Linked DNA regions of Homo sapiens: region 1 is linked to region 2. The links are contacts of gene promoters, found by promoter capture Hi-C in human tissues and cell types (Jung and others, 2019). All regions are on one chromosome and are shown on one strand. The core of a region is centred on a gene start or on the middle of the fragment in contact, and the rest is flanking DNA. Distances in the headings are between cores, read along the strand shown. Region 1 overlaps SLC24A3 (solute carrier family 24 member 3). Region 2 holds the start of DTD1 (D-aminoacyl-tRNA deacylase 1).

The links. Contacts are between HindIII fragments. The study calls those that stand out against the background at their distance.
Region 1: a contact is called between a fragment that was not itself captured here and the fragment with the promoter of DTD1 in region 2, in 1 of the 25 tissues and cell types used here (dorsolateral prefrontal cortex).

What each region holds. Positions count from the first base shown.
Region 1 is chr20:19,227,607-19,230,655 of GRCh38, reverse strand. The region is part of intron 1 of SLC24A3 (solute carrier family 24 member 3); the gene reads right to left. All of the region lies in intron 1 of LOC124904879 (a long non-coding RNA gene), which reads right to left. Among named protein-coding and RNA genes, the nearest start is that of SLC24A3, 16 kb to the right of the region's middle. The HindIII fragment of the contact is 7,240 bases long and covers 1-3,049 here.
Region 2 is chr20:18,586,765-18,589,789 of GRCh38, reverse strand. It overlaps DTD1 (D-aminoacyl-tRNA deacylase 1), which reads right to left and starts at 1,736. Exons shown (of 6, transcript NM_080820.6): 1 at 1,675-1,736. The coding sequence starts at 1,717. LOC124904878 (a long non-coding RNA gene) reads left to right here and starts at 2,325. Exons shown (of 3, transcript XR_007067547.1): 1 at 2,325-2,365. RefSeq lists enhancers at 1,200-1,259, 1,100-1,599 and a silencer at 1,370-1,909. The HindIII fragment of the contact is 3,504 bases long and covers 541-3,025 here.

The DNA of each region.
Region 1 (3,049 bases), core at 168-2,667, 640 kb before region 2:
ATGTCTTTCTATACCCATCCATTCCCCCCCATCAATATGTCTTTCTATACCCATCCATTCAGAGACCCCAGTTCCCGGAAATGCAACTCAACTAGGCAAAGAAGCAAAAGGAGGGTGGTATGGAGCCTTCTGGAGATTAATAGAAAAGAGGTGCGATGGAAAGAGCCACAGGAGGGATCAAACCAGGGTGGCAGATTTTCACACACTGTCTCTAGATATAAGAACTAGGAAGAACTATCACTGATCAAAATTATAATGAATAAGGTTCCACCTCAGTATTCTAACTACAAGGTAGAAGGAGCAGGAGATCCCCTCTCAGGCAAGCTGAGTCACCCTAGAAAAGTCAACATCAACACTGGAAGGTTGGCCAGGGACCATGCACAACAACCACCCCTTCAGCATAAGCGATGCTCACAGTAACCTGACAATTGTGACCAGGTGAGAGTGGTGAGGGCGCTGAAGGGACAGGAGGGTCTGTTCACAGGCACACCCCCGGCCTGGACCTTCTCTTTCAAGGTTGATAACTCAAGACAATTTTGAAAATTCTCTGCAACATCTGAAGTAAAACACTATTCTTCTAAAAAAAAAAAAAATCTATTATGGGAAGAAGATGTAAATTTTGGAATCCATTTTTTTTAATCTCAATATCAAATAAACATAGGATATATGAAAGAAAAATCACTAAATGGAAAAGGCTAAGATTACAAGGGGAGTCAGCTAAGATGGAGATGACAAGACATAAAATGGTTAAAAAACCAGAAATGCAAACACAAAACATAAATGGGAATAAGAGGCAGCAGACAGCAGACCCAATAGTGCTGAAAATCAAATTACCAAGGGGAAAAAAACATAGGCTCTTACAGAATGAAGAGGAAAAGACAAAAAGATGAAGACACAGCCAAATAACTATCCAAATTACAAACAGTTCATGTTCCAAGGGAAACAACCAAAACCAACAAGAAGCCACAATTAAAGGTCATATTCTCCAGGCAAAACGAAATAAAATTAGAACTTGGTATATATACATATATATATATACACACACACACTCCAACAACTTAGAAGTTAAAATTCAGTCTCTCAAATAATTAATTGCAGAAAAAATAAAAACTATAATTACAAGACTATTTGAAAAGTACCAATAATGACTGCATGACATTTCAAAACTTATAGTTTGAGTCTAAAGCTACACTAAACATCAAATGCATTATAAAGCAAGAAATAATAAAAAGGAAATAAAGCATTTCATTCAAGATATTTGAAAATAAACACAGGAATTAAGAGGAGATTTTGAATAAATATTAAAGCTTTACTGACTCAGGGAAAAGGGAAAAGAGAAAAATTAATGAAGAAATACAAGATACAAATTTTCACAAATTGATAAAATACACCAAATACAGTCAGATTTTATCAATGAAAAAAATAAACATATACGTTAGTACTGAGAAAAGTTTATATGATCTCAATTACAGAACAAATTAAAACAAAAAAAGTACTTCATAATTTTGTTCATTTCTAAAATATTAATGAAATTAACACTTCTCTAGGAAAACATAAATTACCCACACAGAAAAGTATCAATGAAAGAAATTAAAGTTTGTTCAAAATTATCTTCATAGAAGACTGTAAGGCAGGCAGCACTATAAGTGCTTTTGTCAAATTTTCAATATACAAATAATTTCCATGCTTCATAAAATATTCCAGAACATAGAGGAACATAGAAATTATCAATTCATTTGTAAAGTTAGTGTGATCCTGACACCAAAACCTGGCAAAGGAGCTATATGTCTATTTCTTTCATAAATATATAGGCAAAAATTTCATAGAAAATGCAAATAAATAAAATCCAGCATCATATTAAAAATATATGTCATGCCTTTGTAAGATTCACTTTCAGAAGTGCTTTAGTAAGGATATTTTTTTCTATATATATTGTTATATTAAACACTTTAATAAGTGTTAATAAGGCATTTGATCACATTCAACATCCATGGCTAATTTTTTTTTTTTTGAGACGGAGTCTAGCTCTGTCACCCAGGCTGGAGTGCAGTGGCGTGATCTCAGCTCACTGCAAGCTCCGCCTCCTGGGTTCACGCCATTTTCCTGCCTCAGTCTCCCGAGTAGCTGAGACTACAGGCGCCCACCACCACGCCCACGCCCGGCTAATTTTTTGTATTTTTAGTAGAGACAAGGTTTCACAGTGTTAGCCAGGATGGTCTTGATCTCCTGACCTCGTGATCCGCCCACCTCAGCCTCCGAAAGTGCTGGGATTACAGGCGTGAGCCACCGCGCCCGGCCCTGATTTTTTTCTAATATAGAAAACCACAAATGAAAGGAAACTTCCACAGCATAATGAAAAGTAACCAGTGTCACTAATAGCCAAGGGGATCCATACCCCAATGGACAGCACATAGTCTTCCAACAGTAAAAAAACTCCTCAGCTACAGAATGAACCTAAAGATATTGATTCATAGAATAAGTTTATTTTCAGTATTGTATAATTTCACATTTTTAAGAATAAAATATAAAGAAGCAATATTTTAAAAGACTATTAAGGGATGAAACAAGAGCAACAACAAATAATAAATACCAGAGTAACCTTCACCAGTAAATGTAAGGAAGAAATAGAGAAATAATCATGAATCTTGACAAATTTTTTAAAAGCCTTTATCAAATGAAGAAACACACTATGAACAAAAAGAATCAACATTATAAAATGCCATTTTTCCATAAATTATTTATAGATTTATCAAAACCTAGAAGGATTTGGAGAAAATGTAAAGGATTATAAATTCATCTGGAAAGATAAATGAGTGATAACAATAAATAAATAGTTTTTTCAAAAAACAGGAAAGGTGTCTTGACCTACCAGATAATTAACATGCTAATAAGTTACAATTAATTAATGAGTAAATATAACAAAATAAATATCATAAAATATTTGCCTCTGGTACATAAGAGAATAGGCATGGAATAAAGGTGATACCACAAATGTGGAGGTAGAGGAAACAGTAGTCAATAAACAATTCTGGAATTAACTATTAAATAT
Region 2 (3,025 bases), core at 487-2,986:
ACTCTTATTCAGCACATCTCACAGAATACACATTTTCAATATTCCAGATTAGCAGGATGGAGAGTTCAGGAGAGAGATCAAAATTTAAATCTGTCAGTGACGACCACACACAGCAGCAGACTGCAAGGTTCTTCTCAATAATGCAAAACATCTTTCATCTATGAATTTTCCCAGTTTTCATGAATTTAAATATCTACAGAAATGTTATAAAAGCTTTAAAATTCCTAAATCCCAGTGCTACTCTATTCCCTATTATTCCAGGACCATTTCCAAAACCAAAGCTACCAGAACAGCTTAGAAATCATTAGGCGGGGTTGAAAAATAGACTCTTAGATTTAAATATACGGTTTTGGTGGGTTTGGTTGTTTCTTTAGGGTTTTTTGTTGTTTTTGTTTTGTTTTGTTTTTTGTTTTGGGGTTTTGTTTGTTTGTTGTTTTTTGAGACAGAGTCTCGCTCTGTCGCCCAGGCTGGAGGTTACTGGCACAATCTCGGCTCACTGCAACCTCTGCCTCCCGGGTTCAAGCGATTCTCCTACCTCAGCCTCCCGAGTAGCTGGGATTATAGGCACCAACCACCGCTCCCGGCTAATTTTTGTATTTGTAGTAGAGATAGGGTTTCTCTATGTTGGCCAGGCTGGTCTCGAACTCCTGGCCTCAGGTGATCTGCCCGCCTTGGCCTCCCAAAGAGCTGGGATTACAGGTGTGAGCCACAGCCCCCGGCCTGTTTTGTTTTTAATTCATACTTTTGTGGACACAAGAACGCATATTTGGTGCAGACTGGCTCCAAGGACAGGATATCTGAAATTATTTGAACTGAAACAATATAGTTGTGCCAATAAAGACAGAAAAGACTAAAGACAATATAAAGCTTGTCATTTAAATGTTTTTTAAAAAATATCTTTCGTACCGTGGTTTTCTTAAAACGACTACTTTATCTACACTAATCATCTGGACCTCTGATGCCCAACCGAGACGAAAGTGCTGAGTGATGACCAGGGGTCGGGTAGCTTGGTCCACAAGAAAAAGAGAAATGTTTTCATCTTGAATTCTTTAGATCCCGACCCCTCCGCGCAGAGTTCAGCGGGCGAGGGCGAGGGGCGTCCTGGGCAGGGGGCGCCCCTCATCCAGCCTAGGCTCCAGTCACGTACGTGCACGCAACTGTCAAAGCTCAGCCCAAGGAGCAACTCTCCGCATCTGTGCATTTCATCCTGAGTCAAGCCCCATAAAAATTGGAATACGTAAAAATGGGCAAAAATTGAACATTTAAAATACAGCAGTGAAAAGGGAGGAGTGCCTGCTCCGGAAATGCTCTAAGCGTGGTTCATCAACACTCCCTGAAGAGCGGACCACGGAGATGCTCCGAGGCTCCGCCATCCCGCACGCAGGACAAAGGTGCTGAGAATGAGGCGCGCTGGTCCTGCACCCTCTGCCGAGAGCCGGAAGCCAGGGGCGCGCCGGGGCCGGTCGGGCACGTGCAGGGGGCTCTCCGGCCGCCGCGCTGCCCCGAAGCCGGCCCTGGGGACTCGCGGCTGCGCGGACCGAGCTCGCGAAGGGGACCAGGCTCGCGGAGGGGCCGCAGCGGCCCCAAGGATGGCGCAGGAAGACCCCCCACGCAAGACAGCCGGTCGCGGGGGTCAGGGGCGGCTCCTCCCGGGCCCGGCCCCGCCCGACTGACCTGTGACGCTGGCCCGGGTGACGCGCTGCACCACGGCCTTCATGGCGGCGGCTGGGGCGAGTGGGGCGGCGCCGCGCTGCGTCCGGCCTCGCGACTCTGAGGGCGGCTCCGCAGCCGGCGCCCTCTGGAGGTGACACCCGGAAGCGCGCCCAACTGGCCGGTCCGACTCGGTCGGCTGCTACCCACCCCACGTCGGCCACGCCCACTCTCGGCCTGGCGATAGGCCCACCCACTCATAGATTGACTCCGCCTATGCCTGCCACGCCCACCTGCTGCCCAACCGTAACCCCGCCCGTCATTGAAAAGCCCAGTCCCCACGCTCGGCCCTGCCCCATCCACATCTGGGTCCCGCCAGAGCCCTTTGATCCCCCCATCCCGGGCCCAGCCCCTACCCAGTGCCCAGAACCCACTCTGCCCCGAAGGTAGTCTCTATGCTGGTTTTTTTCTCCCACATACCCGAACCTAAGAACCCGTCATCACTAAGCCTTTAAATTCAGCCTGAATCCTATTTCTAATTGTATTCCTCTTTCCTCTTCCACTCCTCTGCACGCAGATCCTCCCAAATTCTTCTTCCTTGTCTTCCTGCCTCAGTGGCTTTTCAGATACCACATACAAAAGGATCTGCTGCCTAAAATAGCCATTTACCTATCTCACTATTAATTCGACTTAGCCATGTCATGATAATAAATAGGTATGTGATTCTAGAATTCTAATTTCTCATGTAATATAAATGCTACTAATTGGCCCCCTCACTGGGTTGTTAGATTTAAATGAACCAAACCACGTAAAAGTGCTTAGATGGCAGCAAAGGGCTGTACAACTATTACCCCAACAAATTATTATCATTGCTAAAAATAATTCCATCTCAGCAGTCTTCACCTTAAAGGTGACTAATAGCATTGGTGGGCGTAGAAAAGGCACTGAAATTGAGAAGAAACCCTCACTTGCCCAGAAAAGACTACAAACTAGTGTGCTTGTTTGTTAAATACTGAATACTAAATTGCCTTAATAACGTTGTCAAAGTTAACATAACCAGTAACAAGACATCATGTGCCTCCTGATATTGCACTGGGAAGGACACAACATCAATCTTGTGGTATTTCTGCCAAATAATGTATAACCTGAATCCAATCATGATGAAACATAGGACAAAAATAAATTGAGGAACATTCTACAAAATAACCAGGTAGGATTCCGAGAATTAAGGAGGATTTTTTTTTTTTTTTTTTTTGAGATGCAGTTTTGCTCTTGTGGCCCAGGCTGAAGTGCAATGGTGTGATCTTGGCTATCCACAACTTCTGCCTCCTGGGTTCAAGCAATTCTTCTGCCTCAACCTCCTGAGTAGCTGGGA